Linked DNA regions of Homo sapiens: region 1 is linked to region 2. Evidence: promoter capture Hi-C in 16 types of primary human blood cells and fetal thymus (Javierre and others, 2016). All regions are on one chromosome and are shown on one strand. The core of a region is centred on a gene start or on the middle of the fragment in contact, and the rest is flanking DNA. Distances in the headings are between cores, read along the strand shown. Region 1 overlaps KIAA1671. Region 2 holds the start of PIWIL3 (piwi like RNA-mediated gene silencing 3).

Evidence for each region. Contacts are between HindIII fragments. The CHiCAGO score rates a contact against its expected background, and 5 or more counts as called.
Region 1: a contact is called between a fragment that was not itself captured here and the fragment with the promoter of PIWIL3 in region 2, in 4 of 17 cell types (M0 macrophages, erythroblasts, M1 macrophages and 1 more). The highest score is 6.8, in M0 macrophages.

The regions. Positions count from the first base shown.
Region 1 is chr22:25,024,260-25,028,542 of GRCh38, forward strand. It overlaps KIAA1671, which reads left to right. Exons shown (of 13, transcript NM_001145206.2): 2 at 1,374-1,525; 3 at 3,686-4,283. The coding sequence starts at 3,741. Among named protein-coding and RNA genes, the nearest start is that of KIAA1671, 74 kb to the left of the region's middle. RefSeq lists an enhancer at 1,689-2,888. The HindIII fragment of the contact is 247 bases long and covers 1,304-1,550 here.
Region 2 is chr22:24,772,735-24,777,353 of GRCh38, forward strand. PIWIL3 (piwi like RNA-mediated gene silencing 3) reads right to left here and starts at 1,986. Exons shown (of 21, transcript NM_001255975.1): 1 at 1,588-1,986. The HindIII fragment of the contact is 5,025 bases long and covers 1,613-4,619 here.

The sequences.
Region 1 (4,283 bases), core at 177-2,676, 250 kb after region 2:
CAAACAGTTGCTCTTGGTGACTCTTTTCCCAGGAAAATCCATGCAGAGAAGCATTCATTCCACATTTGGGCAGGTGAGCTGGTGTGACAGTGTGAGGTTAATGTGGATGTAGCAGGTGCCTGCCCTCGGGGTGGAGCTCCTCTGTGTGGCCCAGTGAAACTGATAGAGGTCTTTGGGTGAGGGTTGGTAGATTGAGCCTCTGGCTTGTGAAACTGATAGGGGTCCCTGGGTGAGGATTGGTGGATTGAGCCTCTGGCTGAGCACTTCACAGCTTTTTGATTCTGTCATTCAGTAGCCACAGCCACAGCTAGAGTAACTCATCTTATGTCCCAGATTGCTTAGAGTCATTTGGCATGAGACTCATGGTATCTGGACTTATTTAGCATCTTAGAGAGTGGGCAGCAGGGGCAGAAGAATATTTCTTCATTCATTTACTTATTAACTCAGCAATGATTTATTTCTCTATTCAGTAATCATGTATCTGGTGCTTTTATGTGCCAGGCTGCTGTGCTAGCCACTAGGGATTTGGGGTGTCCTCTGGCGGGGCTTACCATTGAATGGGAGAGGCTGATGTGAAGGATGATGTCGTATTAAATGTAACAGTGTAGCTATGCTAAGTCCTGCCAAGCCTCCGAGTGTATGTGGTGCTCTGTGAACAGGTAGGAGGGGGTTGTACCGGGTTGAAGGGAGACAGAGATGTGTGAACTGTGGTCTGTGTCTGTGTGTGAGCAAGATGGTTGTCCCAGAGAACAGGCATAGCATGTGCAAAGGCCCTGAGGAGGCATTTGGAGGGCTTCAAAGAGGTACAATGTCCAAATACCGCTAATGTAGCTACCAAGTGAAGCACATCACTTGGTAGCAGCTACCAAGTGAAGCACATCACTTGGTAGCAGCTACCAAGTGAGTCAGCACCTCGAATGCTCAGTAGCTACCTCCTCTAAGTCAAGTGAGTTATGCAGGACCACCAGTTCCAATTCTAGGCAATCAGTCCTATTTGCCCCCACATCCTGCATTTAAAAAGTGACATTTGTTACCCAGTTGTAATTGCTTGTGTGTGTATGTGTGTTTCTTACAGAAGACTGTGAGTTGCATGGTTGCAGGGGATGTTTCATGCTCATCTTTGTACACACCGTAGGTGCTTAATAAATGTATCAGAGAACAGGGAAGATTTTTATTGAGCACGTACTGTGGGCTCAGCACTATTTATGCACACGTACATATAAGGCTACAAAATCGAAAAGCCAAAAGGAGCATACGTTTTACAAGCTGGAGTAGATGCCAGCGGATGCATTTGGAGCTTGAAAGCTTTTGTGCCGTCTGTTCCCATACTGCCAGAACTCCGGAACTGAGGCTGTCATCCTGTGTCTCCTTAGACCTGCTGAAACTCAGCCTGCTGGGACGAGTCTTCTTTCCCCCTTCTTGTTTCTGCCATGGAAGTGTGTGGACAGCCCCATTCATGATGACATGTGACACTACTGGCTTTTCCCGGCAGTCACACCCCCTGACCCAGGGCCTGCCAGCTTGGGTAAGTGGGGCCCATGCTTGACCCAAGCTTGAGGGCTGGAGTGTCCAAGGGCATGGAGAGTGCCTGTGAGTTCTGCCAGAGAATTTTCTCTCTGTCCTTTGAATCCTGTCATTGTTCTGTGTCTCATGTCCTGGCTATTACATATGTATCCTCAATCAGGGTTTCCAGAGGTCACAGCTGCTCTCCCAAAAGGCCAATGGCCCTGATTCTGGGTGGGATTCTGGAGCCTTAGAACTCTGGTTGGGATCTTTGTGTATGGAAATTCTCCAATTCTCAGATTCTTCATATCTGTCCCTCCATTCTACCTCTAACCGTGTCTAGACAGTGTTCTCCAGTTTGGGGAGATGGAATCTGTTAGCACCATCGAGCGTGTAAGGAAGAGAAAATATCAAAATCTGTCTGCCTTTCTTTCCTGGAGGCTGCTGAGTGAGTCAGAGCCGGGGGAGCAGTGTGGGGCCCCAAGGAAGGGAAGTGGAGAGGCTTGTGTTTAACTAAAATACCTTCTACTTTTTTAGTCCATCTAGGTGGGGGCTGGCTGGGGGCAGTTTCACAGGGAAGAAAACACTGGCATGAAGAGAGCCTGGGGGATCGAGAACAGCAACTTACCTGGCACTTTTTAAGACCAGAAAGGAATAAAAAATAATTTTTAAAAAGACAGAGCTGAGGCTGGGTGTGGTGGCTCAAGCCTGTAATCTCAGCACTTTGGGAGGCTGAGGTGGGCGGATCCCCTGAGGTCAGGAGTTCGAGACCAGCCTGGCCAACATGGAGAAACCCCACCTCTACTAAAACCACAAAATTACCTGGGCGTGGTGGCACATGCCTGTAATCCCAGCTACTCCGGAAGCTGAGGCAGGAGAATGGCTTGAACCTGGGAGGCAGAAGTTGCTGTGAGCCAAGGTCGCGCCATTGCACTCCAGCCTGGGCAGCAAGAGTGAAACTTGGTCTCAAAAAAAAAAAAAGACAGAGCTAAGTGGGTGGTGGACTTGAGGTTAGGTTTCAGCTGGGTGATCGTAGGCAAGTCTGGCGACCTCTCTGGGCCCTTTCCCTTCATCTCCATGAGGGAGATAACGATCATTCCTTCATTCTTGACTTTTGGAGTTGCTGGAGGGTTAATGAGAGAGGAGGTCCCCTGCTTTGCGAAAACAGATCTCATAGCAGGGTGAACAAGAGGCTTATGCCCCAAGCTACTACAAAATGGGGTCTCCTAATTGTACCCACTAAATAGGGTTGTGAGGAGGATGAGATGTATAAAACACAAGAAGCATGTGGCATAGCTCGAGATCTCACTCATGGGAAGACCTCACTGTTGGGCGTTTCTCTTTCTATTAAGAGTATGAAGGCAGTCAGCATAATATGCGTGTTCAACAGAAAAGAACCACAAAGCAAACAAATAATGAAAGCAGGTTGAGTGAGAAAAATGAGAATGGCTTCTTTTTATGGCATCTGGAAGGGTGGGGGAGGGGAAAGAAAAGGGACAAAGGGATGATTGGGTGGGGTTGGTGCCTAGGGCATGGGTTCCAAGGTCACTAACCAGCTTTGTGCTCCCAGGCACTCCTGAGCTGCATTGCTGTGTGACCTGCAGCAGGTTACTTGCCTTCTCTGTGCTAGATGCTTAGCACACACTTGTGATTAGGATCACCTGGGATGTGGGCAGGCTCTGCAGTGGGAAAACAGGGTAACAGGAGTGAGGGAATGTGAGGACGCTCCCACTGAGGCCTATTCAGGGAGGAGCATGTGTGGTGTGAATTTGGTGTCAAACCTGGTTTTAAGTCCTGACTTCGCCTCTTGCTTCCTGGGTGACTCCAGTTACTTGGCCTCTCTGAGCTGGTTTCCTTATCTGTGTAGCAGAGATCACTGCTTTTTGCCATTAAGTGCTGGCCTCTAGATTAGCTGTCAGGGGAAAGTCCTCCAGAGTGTTGATGCCTTTTCTACACCCTTGGAGCTGGAACGAACTTCAGGGATGGGCGTTTAGTCCACTCCCCTCGTCCAGAGCTCAGAGACGGGGAGAGGCAGGCCCAAGCCTGCCGGGTGAGGTCAGCAGAGGGCTGTCGTATGGAATCTGGGGCTCAGGACTCTGTCCCATTTCTCTAAACCATTCTGCTTCAACCCAGACACTGACTGTTTTCCAAATTTACTTGTTTGTTTGTTTTGTTTGTTTAGCAATTGCTTCTCCATTCTTGAAGTTCCTAACCCCCATGAATCCACAACCATAACCATGGCCACGCGGGTCGAGGTGGGCTCCATAACGCCCTTGACGGCCGTGCCAGGCCTGGGTGAGATGGGCAAGGAGGAGACCCTGACGAGGACCTACTTCCTCCAGGCCGGCGAAGCCTCTGGGGCTCCCCCAGCCCGGATCTTGGAAGCGAAGAGCCCCCTGCGGAGCCCGGCCCGGTTACTCCCTCTGCCAAGGCTCGCCCCCAAACCCTTCTCGAAGGAGCAGGACGTGAAATCTCCTGTCCCGTCTCTGCGGCCCAGTTCGACTGGACCTTCCCCCTCTGGGGGGCTCTCTGAGGAGCCAGCAGCAAAGGATCTGGACAACAGGATGCCCGGCTTGGTGGGGCAGGAGGTGGGCAGTGGGGAGGGCCCGAGGACGAGCTCGCCCCTCTTCAACAAGGCTGTGTTCCTGCGGCCCAGCTCCAGCACCATGATTCTCTTCGAAACCACCAAAAGCGGCCCCGCTCTGGGGAAGGCGGTTAGTGAGGGGGCGGAGGAGGCCAAGCTAGGTGTGTCCGGCTCCCGGCCTGAGGTGGCTGCCAAG
Region 2 (4,619 bases), core at 736-3,235:
GCAGCATCTAGTGGACTAGAAGGAGAACTGAAGAAGTGTCACAATGACATCGGGAAGAGAAAGTTTTAAGGCTGGGGAAAAGGTTGGCAGAGAAGTCAGGAAGGAGGCCTGCATGTGCCGGGTGTCCCCTGTGGGGAGATCAGATGAGGTACCTTAACAGTTATCTGGACCTCAAGCCCCCATGTGCTAGCTGAGGGCGTCCTTCTCCCTCCCCAGGCCTCCCTGGGTGCTGGGTCTCTGGGTCCTATGGGCTCAGGGGCCCATCTTTTTCAAGTTCTGCTCCACGTGTCTGTGTCCAGCTGAGGGCACTGACCCCACTGCCCCAGTCCCCAGGGCTTAGATGCCAGGACAGTAGAAAGCTGTGTGCCAGGGCATAACCAAGGTGTCCTCCACTGCTCTGGGCCACACATTGGCAGCTGGGCCCTGTGTCCCTCTGACACCGGATCCTAGGGTTTCTGGCTCTGCCATCTCTGCTGTGATGCTCCATTCCAACCATGTGGCTCAGCAGGGAGGGCATTACACACTGTCCCTTCCCCCTTTTCCATACTCCTGCCTTCCTGCATGCCCTGCACAGGAACCCTCTTCCCTTCTCCTTTTGCCAAAAGAATTCAGAAGATACCAACTTTCTCCTCTTTTCCTGTCTGCAGTGGAGGTCCCGGCAGGACCCCCTCCTGAGCTGTGAGGGTTAAATGGGAGAAGGTGTATTGAGCTTGAAGCACTGGCAGGTCCCACAACGAATGCTCAAAAAATGGAAGCCTCTGCCACCATCTGCATCATCCCCATCAACCACAGGAGCAAAGAGCCCGCCTTTTCTGAGAAGAGCATTTACATATTGATAGAAATTCCGCGGTTTTATTTATCATCACGTCAGTTTTAAGGATGTAAGTAGGTACACATATACATATGTATCTAAAATATATTAAGTTTTTAAAAGTAGGTTATTAAAGGATATGTACAAGACACTCTAGATTTTTTTTTTTTTTTTTTTTTTTTGAGATGGGAGTCTCACTCACTCTGTTGCCCAGGCTGGAGTACAGTGGTGCGATCTTGGCTCACTGCAACCTCCGCCTCCCAGGTTCAAGCAATCCTCCTGCCTCAGCCTCCCAAGTAGCTGGGACTACAGGCACCCGCCACTGCGCCCAGTTAATTTTGGTATTTTTCGTAGAGACGGGGTTTCACCATCTTGGCCAGGCTGGTCTTGAACTCCTGACCTCATGGTCCAGCCGCCTCAGCCTCCCAAAGTGCTGGGATTACAGGCATGAGCCACTGTGGCTGACCAAGATGCTCTAGATTTTTAAAATAAATATACATACTCCACATGCTCAAATATAAGCTGAATCTGTAACCCAGCAGCTTAGCAGCCTAACCTCAAACCGCATTTTAAAACTTTTTTTCCTTTCCCCTTTCCTCTCTTCTGCTAATCTGAAGATGTAACTTAGACAAAGTATAGACGTGTTTCCTCTCCTCTTGAAATCCAGCCTTGGAATGTGCTGTGAACCTCCACCCCCTTTCTTTTCCTGTTCTATGCCCCCATGCCTTATGCACATTTATTTACCTAGTTGTTTGGTAAGCACACACCATACTCACTTATCTGGTCACATATTTCCTTAGAAGCTTCAGTAGTCAGATCCTGATACGAACCATGCACCTCCTCCAGCCATGATGACGCCGGCCACTTCCACAGATGGAAAAATAATTCAGGACAAGCCACTGGAGGGGGTCACACCACCTGACACCTCCCAGTCCCCCTGCCTCTTTTGCCTTCCAAATCCTCCCTTTAAAAACCGCTTTGGCCGGGCGCGGTGGCTCACGCCTGTAATCCCAGCACTTTGGCAGGCTGAGGCGGGTAGATCATGAGGTCAGGAGATGGAGACCATCCTGGCTAACACAGTGAAACCCTATCTCTACTAAAAATACAAAAAATTAGCCGGGCGTGGTGGCGGGCACCTGTAGTCCCAGCTACTCGGGAGGCTGAGGCAGCAAAATGGCGTGAACCCGGGAGGCGGAGCTTGCAGTGAGCCGAGATCACGCCACTGCACTCCAGCCCGGGTGAAAGAGTGAGACTCTGTCTCAAAAAATAAACAAATAAATAAATATCTTAAAAAATAAAATAAAATAAATAAAAACCCCTGCGTTCATCCGAGCGCAGTGGCTCACGTCTGTAATCGCAGCACTTTGGGAGGTCAAGGCCGGAGGATCACGAGGTCAGGAGATGGAGACCATCCTGACTAACGCGGGGAAACCCCGTCTCTACTAAAAATACAAAAAATCAGCTGGGCATGGTGGCATGTGCCTGTAGTCCCAGCAACTCGGGAGGCTGAGGCAGGAGAATCGCTTGAACTCAGAAGGCGGAGGTTGCAGTGAGCTGAGATTGCGCCACTGCACTCCAGCCAGATTGGGCGACAGAGCAAGACACCGTCGCAAAAAACAAACAAAAAAAACCCCTGCGTTCTTTCCTCACGTGGAAGAGTGGAATTGCTCTCTGCTCTTGCCCTTGCTAGCATAGATTATAAAATTCTTTCTTTTTAAATCACATGTCATTATCATTTTGACTTCTTTCTACAAGCAGTGAGCAGCTGGGCCCTTTTGCTGGTTACAACATGAGTGACTGGGGCAAATACATCAATCAAGGTTTATCAAGCCAGATTTAGGTTGTTTCTGGGAAAAACACGAGCCAAACATGCACCTGTGGCTATTTTTCTGAAAAGGTTTTTCAGGAGATTTCCTATTTTTTTTAAGAAACTTTATTTTATTTTATTTTATTTATATCTCTATGTATTTATTGAGATGGAGTCTCGTTCTGTCGTCCAGGCTAGAGTGCAGTGATGTGATCTCTGCTCACTGCAGCCTTCGCCTCCCGGGTTCAGGCGATTCTCCTGACTCAGCCTCCTGAGTAGCTGGGATTACAGGTGCATGCCACCACACCAGGCTAATTTTTGTATTTTCAGTAGAGACGGGGTTTCATGATATTGGCCAGGCTGATCTCAAACTTCTGACCTCAAGTGATCCACCCACCTTGGGATTACAGGCGTGAGCCACCATGCCCAGTCGGGGATCAGAGTTTTTAAAAATGATTTGGTGGGTATGGGCTCAGGAAGTAGGGAGTGCTTATTGGTCGGGTTGGAGATGGAATCATGGGGGTGGAAGTGAGTTCTTGCTGATTTCTCTTCCTGGATGAGATCGCAGGACTGGTTGAGCCAGATTATCAGTCTGGGTGGTGTCATCTGCTGCATCGGAATTCAGGGTATGCAAAATATCTCAAGCACTGATCTTAAGTTTTGCAACGGAGATTTTATTCCCAGAAGCAACTTGGGGAGGTTCAGACTCTTGCGGCCAGAAGCTGCATGGCCCCTAAGCCGTAATCTCTCATCTTGTAGCTAATTTGTTAGTCCTACAAAGGCAGGACAGTTCCCCACGCAAGAAGCGTCTTTTTTTCAGGAAAGGACTATTATCAGTTTTGTTTCAGAATTTAAACTATAAACAATTCTTCCCCAAGACTAGTTTGGCCTATGCCCAGGAATGAACAAAGACAGCTTAGGCGTTAGAAGCAAGGTGTGGTCGGTTAGGTCTGATCTGTTTCACTGTCATAATTTTCTCAGTTATGAGTTTTGCAAAGGCCCTTTCAATGGGGTGACTATAGTAAGTTAATTTTCCTCCTCTTTCTTCTGGTTTACCCAAGGGCATGTGGAGTCATAGAACTGTCCAGCAGGCACTGAAAGTAAAAAGTCTGTGATAAACCACCTAAATTTCTAGCTAGGCTAGTGGGAAAGGGGTCTCCTGCACATCAAGGAGTAAGGGGATCATCCTTGGTTTGTTTTGTTTTTATCTCCCCAGTTGCAAAGCTGTCCTGCAGCCTCAGCAATGGCAGAGGGACCTAAAGCCCTGAGAAATCACTTGGCTCACTGGGCAGAGGAAAAGGAAAGAGACTTCTGCATCTGAAAAGTATAGGGGAAATCTCTTTTTGTTTCTTCCTGTACTTCACTTGAAAGGCTGACCTAGACGCGTGTAACTGCACAGCAGCACGGGTGCTGCAACACTGATAGGAGCATGAAAACGGAACCCTGCAGAATCCTGCAGAGGAGAAAGCTAAAGGGGATCACTTAAATGGATGTATGAATTAACATAAGTCCTAGGATCACCCTGAACTATGCATGCACAGAAGCAGAGCAAGGGTTTTGAGAAACGAACTATAATATAAACCACCACTCAACTCCCAGATTTACCCAAGTGGATACACCAGCATAGCAAAGGCTTGAAAACTGCACTGAGACTGGAACAACTGTCAAAGAAAACAGGACAGGGCTGGGCACGGTGGCTCACACCTGTAATCCCAGCACTTTGGGAGGCCAAGGTGGGCAGATCACGAGGTCAGGAGTTCAAGACCAGCCTGGCCAACATAGTGAAACCCCGTCTCTACTAAAAATACAAAAAATTAGCCAGGCGTGGTGGCGGGCGCCTGTAATCCCAGCTACTTGGGAGGCTGAGGCAAGTGAATCGCTTGAACCCAGGAGGTGGAGGTTGCAGTGAGCTGAGATTGAGCCATTGCACTCCAGCCCAGGTGACAGTGTGAGACTCCGTCTCAAAAAAAAAAAAAAAAAAAAAAGAAAAGAAAACAAGAC